Linked DNA regions of Homo sapiens: region 2 is linked to region 1. The links are contacts of gene promoters, found by promoter capture Hi-C in human tissues and cell types (Jung and others, 2019). All regions are on one chromosome and are shown on one strand. The core of a region is centred on a gene start or on the middle of the fragment in contact, and the rest is flanking DNA. Distances in the headings are between cores, read along the strand shown.

Region 1 (3,802 bases), core at 679-3,178:
CCAGAGGGACCTGTATTATTCCCTGGCACCTGGTCATTCTCCTGAAGGGTAAGAGATGGAGGCACCTCACCCATCTCACTCTTCCCTCTTGGTTTGGCTCTTCAGAGCAAGGGGCTTCACCTCAGAAGGGTGAATTTTCCCTGGCACATATTTTTCTTATGGATTGGGGCTTCACCCTGCTAAACTAAGCAGAACCTAACTTAAAATGAAAAGGGAGAGGGAAATCATATGTGCACTTGTTTAAAACATTGAGCAACTGAATCAATTTAGAGTAGGTTTAAAGGAGGTCAGGGCTCCAGCTTCTATTCTCATATAAGCCTTGAACAGAAAAACCACTCAGCCATAGGTTGTGCCAGAACCCATTTTATGGCCTTTTTTATTGTTAGATACAGGGTCTCATTCTGTTCCCCAAACTGGAGTACAGTTGCATGATCATAGCTCACTGCAGCCTGGAACTCCCAGGCTCAAGCAGTCGTCCTACGTCAGCCTCGCAAGTAGCTACGACTCCTCAGCTTGCAGGTAGCATGCGCCATCATGCCCAGCTAACTTTTTTATTAATTTTTTTTTTTTTTTTGGTGGAGACAGCAGTCTTGCTATGTTGCCCAGGCTGGTCTTAAACTCCTGGCCTCTATCAGTCCTCCTGCCTAGGCCTCCCAAAGTGCTGGGATTACAGGTGTGAGCCACCATGCCCAGCCTGTTCTTAATTCTTCATTTGCCTTTCCTCTCCTAAAAATTGCAGGTTACCCCACAGACTACTCTATTGCTTTCCATGTAGCCCAAGCCTGATCTTTGTTCCCACTCCACCACTAAGTGCATCCTTGGCAAGTTACTTGACTTCATTAAGCCTCAGTTTCCTTGTTGTAAGTGTTGCTTTGAGGATCAGTGAGGTAATCTACTTAGCATGGTGCCTGGCATATGGTAAGTAAGCACTCAGTAAATATTAGACATTATTATTAGTAGTAGTATCTAACCACTTCTACTTCCCTGTGTGACCAATTTGAATCTTTACAGCCACTGGTTCTTTGCAAATCCTTCTAGGAAAGCCTACTTTCTGCCAATGTCACATGGTTATCTCACAGTTAGGGCTCTTAGCAACTAAACTGATCTCACTTACGTTTGATTACTTTGATTTAAAGTCCCAAAGGAACCATCTCAGTAAACAGATCTCTACCTAAACTTTCTGAGCTCAGATCTCCTCCTCTGTGAATCAACTTTCAACAATAATTGTAGATTCTGAAGCATTAACAGGCCCTCCCTACATTTGTTGCATAAATTTGTTAATAAATGATTATTCTTTTGTTGGTTCATTTATGTATATCTTATCATTAAGGCATTCAATTTTTAAACTAAGTTTTAACTACCTGCAGCATTCCAGGAATTGTGCTCTTTAATTAGATTGTAAATTATTCAGGGGAAAGAGTTGATCTCTCATTTCTTTGAGTTTCCTAAAAGTCCAGCACAGTTCTTGGCACACTGGAGGGAACCTCACAGTTCTACGCAATTACTGTGTCCTTGAAAAAATGAATGAAATAATCATTTGGGGACAGTACATTTTCCATTGGGTAGTTGGGCTGGCTACTGAGTGAAGTCTATTATGAATCGCCTTGCGAAGTGAAGGGTTCTTCTGTAATGGGGAGGATCCTCCAGTCTTCGTGTATGTGTGAACTCGGAATTTCATAGACGGCCTTGGCTCACGATCGGTTTGGCACTTCGCGTTCCTAGGCCACAGGACGTCGAACCTCGGGCGACAGCAGCCTCCCGCTAGGGGGCTCCCGACTTCCCACGGAGGTTCCACCTGTACTGCGCAGCCTCCGTCCGGGAGTGGGCGGAAATTCCCTTGCTGACGCGCGTGACGTCACCGGAGGGCGCGGTCTGCTAGAGGGGGTGGGGCATTCCCCTGCAGCAAGGGGCGGGGCCACCCCAACGCCGCTTCTGCGGCCAAAGTAGGTTGGGAGTGGAAGGTGGTGGCTGCTGCTCCGCAGTGTCGGGAAGATGGCGCCGCCGGTGGCAGAGAGGGGGCTAAAGAGCGTCGTGTGGCAGAGTGAGTGCGGTGGGGTAGGGGTTGAGAGAGGGAAGGCCGGGAGGCTGCCGTGCCGGGCCTCGTTTTGCAGCCCCAACCCAGCGGTCTGTTGAGGAGCCGCCGCGAGCACTTGTTGCTTTGGGACCTGTGTGAGGACTTCTTCCTGCTTTCCTGCCCTGCCTTATTCCTTGCCAGCACCAGGGATGGGCGGGGTGCGACGGGACGCGGCCTTCTCGTTGGCGTCGGGCACCCCCTCGCCTCGGCCGCGCTCTGGCCGCGAAGCTCCGCCCCGGGTGAGCCGCCCGGCCCGGCTTTCCCTCCCGCGGAGCCCGTGCGTGCCCTCGGCCGCGCTCCCCACTCTTCTCCGCTCCCGTCCGCGCTCCACCAGTTGGGGATGTCTCTCCATCCGAGACAATTCGGGCGCTGTTTATTCCGCCCCCATCTCCACCCCACACTGGAGTTTGCAAGGACTGTTTATTCTGCTTATTCGTGTTAGTATCAACCCGTGCTTTTCAAAAAACCTCACTGTTTAACAGACTCATCTTCCCCTATTCCGAGAGGAGCCTACTTTCTGAAAAGTTCTTGAGAAGAGACCATTGGAATGACCGGTGTCCAGCCGTGACATCTTCCTGCATAGCCTGGGCAAGAGCCGCTCCTTCCGTTTTCCCTACTCTCGGGGGCCCCTCCCTGCTGTTAGGACCGGACTCCTTATTGGTTACTGATGTTCTGCGGTATCATCCACAACTTTCATAAACATCGCTCCAAACCTAGGTCTGGCAGGTTAGAGAAAGAATGAAACCACCCAACAGGAATAACCATCATTGTTTGGTATCTCTGAGTTCAAGATAATTATGGCCTAGTAGTGGAAAGGGAGTAGCATCTAATTAGTATTTCTTAGTCCAACTTGTTGAACAAAAAACAAATGATTTAGTCAGCAGAATTCTGGGAGTTAGAGTTCCTTGTCTAAAATTAAAAATCCAAATCAGTAACTGGGATAGTGCTTAACATATAGCAGGCACTAAGCAAATGTATAAATAGGTGAAAAATATGAAATTATCTTTTAAAAGATTAGATAATTTTAAGGTTGGCATTTGCTTTTTCAAGATTTACATGGCTGACTTAAGATTTGAGATGTTTTAAAACAATGGTATTTAAATACATTTATGTGAAAATGGGTAACAAATTGTGTTGTATAATTTCCAAGATATATATGTGATTAACATCCGCATGTATGTATTTAAGCCAGTTCTTTACATATTGAATCATAAGCTTTTCCCTTTTTCACATTTTCCTTCTGATCCTCATACAGATAAAGACATTGTTTTTATTATCTGTCATTCTGTGACTTCCTTTTTTTTAAACAACTGACATTGACTCAACATTTTTCATGTTGCTTCACAATCTCGTAATTAACATTTTAAATTGCTTTTTAAATACCTTGAGGTGGCAAAAAATTTTGATAGCAGAAAAGAAAAGAAAAAATTATGGCCAGGTGCAGTGGTTCACGCCTGTAATCCCAACACTTTGGGAGGCCGGGGCAAGATGATCACCTGAGCCTAGGAGTGGGCAACAAAGTGAGACCCCATCTCTACAAAAAAATTTTAAAATTAACCATGTTTGGTGACATGCACCTGTGTTCCCACCTACATGGGAGGCTGAGGCAGGAGGATCCCTTCAGCCCAGGAGGCTGAGGCTGCAGTGGACATTGATTGTGCCACCGCACTCCAGCCTGGGTGACAGAGCAAGACCCTGAGTCTAAATAAATAAATAAATAGCTAGCGT
Region 2 (3,802 bases), core at 589-3,088, 69 kb after region 1:
AAAAGATGATAAAAAGCCCTCTATAGACAGTCCCATTGCATCCTGCTGGCAGCTTCCAGCGGCCAGAGCACAGCTAGACCTTGGAGTAAATACTGAGAGGCCTGTGCACCCTGGAGACTGCCAGGTGTTTCTTTACAGCCCTCAGGCAATGCTGAGTCCCTTGATGCCAGCATTAGGGGTACCATTACTTTTACTTCACAAGCTTGTTTTTCTGGTTTATTACTCGAACAGAATTAGAAGAGAGGTCATTAGAATTGACACAAGAATTGCATGAGGGAGGAGATGGCCAAGACTACAGGATCAGTAAGTATAAAATTATCCTTGTAAATCAGAGCCTAGTGTCTTTGTGGAACTCCTTAAGGGCATTGCCTGCCCTTTTTTGCTATTTCTTAGATTAGTCGTGTTGCAGTGATTGCTCATAATGACCCCTAATCTTCAAGGAAATGGAAAATTACATTTAGAATATGGTTTGATAAAGCAGAAATGGGCCATATTTTTAAATCAAAAATGATTATAATTACCAATTTCTATAAATGTTAATTTGAGGGATTTAGAAATATTCGTTAATGGTAGACGTTTCTAACCAAGGTTCCATGGATTTGTTTCATGGTGTCCACGAACTTTTAAAAATGAATGTATTCTTTTCCACGAGAAGGCAGAGCATGGGGGAAGGGAGACTCCATAGCTTTCACCAGATTCCCAAAAAATGAGCCCAAAAAAGGTTAAGAACTAATGAATCATATAAGAACACTTCAAGCCAGAGAAGTATATGATTTTAAACTTGGGGATGAGATAGTGGTACTAACATACAAAACAGATTAGCAAGTTGTGATTAAATTTAGATATGTGATGATACTGGAAGCCTCTTGGAACTGCCAAAAACCAAAATGTCAACAAATTAAGTCTAATGACCTAATTGGCTTTTATTAGCAATTTATGAATCAGGCAGCATCCTATCTATGAAATAGAAAGGCTGAGCACAGGAGTGGGCTTTATAGGCAGAAAAAAACAGAAGAAAATGGAAACAAGGAACAAAAGGTGTCTTTATATGGGTTAAAGCAGAGGGGACTTCCTTATGCCAGCTCAGGTTGACGGGGCCCCTTCTAATGGGATACTGTGAATGTTCTGGGTCTTTTTTTTTTCTTTTAAACTGACCTATTTTAAAGTTCAGTTTGATTACGTGGCACCTAGCATGAGTGACTCCATTCTAGTTTGGTCTGGTCTGTTGGGGTCCCCTGTAGGAGCTTAGTCCAAAAAAATGACCTCCCATAAGTTTTATTTAATAGAACATACACAGTTTAAGCTCTGTTTTTTCTAATACCAGCCATGGTTCCTTGCTATCTTCCTTACAGTGCCACAGCCTGAAGTAAATTTGGCCATAAAGTCAGAGGTATTTTCAGACTGACCTGTGCATTATCTCTTCCAGGGCACCCTAAACCAATTTACAAACCCCAAAGTTAAAAACAGTCCATTCTCCAGCCAGCTAGACGAATACCAGCTGCTCACATTGGCACGAAAATCTAAAGTGGGAATAGATTCAACTCCCTCCTGACCACTGAGCCAAACTCTGGGAGTTGGGAAACCATTTGTTGAATGTCTAGGGTGAATGAAAATCAGAAGTTTCAGGGAAGGGGGAAAGAGCCAATACCCTGCTGTGCTGTCACTAAGGAGGTAATAAATCACTCTTAAAGAAGGAAAGCAAAAGCTTGATCTGGAAGGAAAAAAAAAAAAGCCTGCTCTGGTCTGCATGAAAATGTACTTAATCTCTGGTACACAGTTTTAATGAATTGTCTTTTCCAAAATTTCATTAAGGCTATTATTTTCACATATTTCTGACTTCAAGCGATCTTTAAACAAATAATTTTGACTTATAAGTATATTGTGAGAATTTCATATAGTACAGAAAAGAAGGTAAAAACCCCTTTCTCCCCCAAAACTCCCAGTTTCCTTTACTAGAGGTTCACTTCAGATTTTTAGGTATCTTTCCTGAAAATACGTATGCCCTTTTAAAAAAAATACACAAATGAAGAGCCAGGCACATTGGTGTGTGCCTGTAGTCCCAGCCACTCAGTAGGCTAAGGCGGGAGGATTGCTTGAAGTTCAAGTCCAGCCTGGGCAACATAGAAAGACCCCAGAGGTTACAACTCTCTATATATATGCTTAGGCATCTTGCTTCTTTCACTGACTTTTGCAGATAATCCAACCTCATTCTTTTCGGTGGCCACAAAGTATTGTCATTTATGAATCATCACAGGGGGTATTTAGATTAGTTCCCCCTTGGGGTTGTTACCATCAGTGCTCCAGTGCCCTTCCCTGTACATATATCATGCCACATTGTGTGGCTTATATGTAAAAGAAATTCCTAGAAGTGGAATTGCTGCTCTGAAGGTACATGATTTGGAATTTGTGGAACTTGGTAGATATTACCAAATAGTCTTCCAAAAAGGTTGCATTTCTGCCAACAGCATATGAGAGTACCAGTTTCCCTCCATCCTCACTGACACAGGGTTTCTTCAAACTTTAATCTTTTTTCAGACTAATAGATAAAAGGAAATTCATTGTTTTGTTTTGATTTCTTTTATTATGAGTTAAGAAGAACATAGATTTATTTTAAAATAAATACTTGTTGGTTGCTTTTGATTTTAAGAATCAGAAGTCCTTTCTTTTTTCTTTTTCCTTTAAGTACTTTGTGTTACCCATTTCTTATGGTTTCTGTGTTTTCTCTAGAAAGTCATCTTCCTAAATTGTGTAGTAAGTAAAATACATTTTGGGGGAAGATCAAGTTTTCTTTGCATTTTTTTCTTTTGAATCCTTGGTAGCCTAGCGTTGAACTAGTATTTCAGTCGATTCCTCCACCTCTGTGCTTTAGCAAGGTCTTCTGCAATCGTTTTAATCATTTGATCTGTAGTTTCTTTCAAAATGGTTGCTGTCCTTAGGGCATGATCCAAAGCCGAGTTTAAAATCTACAGAGGAAAAGTCCACACATTTTAATTACATAAACTAACTGCTGTTTCTGTTCTTTGGGTTCTCTCATTATTAAACATTACAAGGTGGAATTTGGGGAGTATTCCTGTTTTCCTCTTGGTCTATTTCTGTTTTTGAGGGTTGGTTTCCTAGGAGACCAGTCTGAGATGGAATATATTTGTTAGGGAAAGGGATTGAAAAAAAGACCAGCACGTGACTGATGAGCATGAATCAGAGGGTGAGGTCAGCCGCCAGCTGGGCTGTTTCCCTGCCGCAGAGAAAGAGAAAAAAAGAACAGCTCTTAGAGGCCATTGATGGGGATTGGGGGGCCATAACCACTGAGAGGGTATTCAGGGATACAGCGCATGCGTATGGAAACATTTGAAAGTGGCCTGGGGATTCGAGTTAGTGATTTGAAATAGGAAACTGTTGGCAACTCTGATCACAGTGTCACTGGAACAGACCCAGTGCCTTCAACCCCCGGCCAGGGAAATCCTGTAGCTGAGGCACCACCCACAAATCACTTTCTCCAGGAAATTTCCCTTGGAACCAATTTAGAATAATACAAACCTTGCGACTGCTGAGGCTGTGTGTCTTTAGCTTAGTTCTGAGCACAAAATTGTCTTTAGCAGAGCATTTTCTGAAGCTCTGATACTGTAATAACTTAAGAGCTGCCAGTTCTGTGGGCATCAAGATCAAACTTACGAGCTGCAATGCTTCTCGAATGATTTTCTAAGTCCTCACCTCAGATTTTATTTCTTCAGTGCTATCAAAGTCACATAAGGATTTGCTTCCAGAAATCCTGCAGGAGTAGAAATGGGGTGAGGGTGTTGCAGGG

The links. Contacts are between HindIII fragments. The study calls those that stand out against the background at their distance.
Region 2: a fragment that was not itself captured here is called in contact with the fragment with the promoter of STXBP3 in region 1 in 2 of the 25 tissues and cell types used here (aorta and hippocampus).

Annotation. Positions count from the first base shown.
Region 1 is chr1:108,744,746-108,748,547 of GRCh38, forward strand. It overlaps STXBP3 (syntaxin binding protein 3), which reads left to right and starts at 1,929. Exons shown (of 19, transcript NM_007269.4): 1 at 1,929-2,041. The coding sequence starts at 1,993. RefSeq lists enhancers at 1,608-2,178, 1,701-2,110 and a silencer at 2,311-2,430. The HindIII fragment of the contact is 8,912 bases long and covers 1-3,802 here.
Region 2 is chr1:108,813,340-108,817,141 of GRCh38, forward strand. AKNAD1 (AKNA domain containing 1) reads right to left here. Exons shown (of 16, transcript NM_152763.5): 15 at 3,709-3,802; 16 at 2,562-2,963. The coding sequence ends at 2,832. It overlaps LOC105378891 (a long non-coding RNA gene), which reads left to right and starts at 251. Exons shown (of 5, transcript XR_947687.3): 1 at 251-303. The HindIII fragment of the contact is 4,821 bases long and covers 1-3,802 here.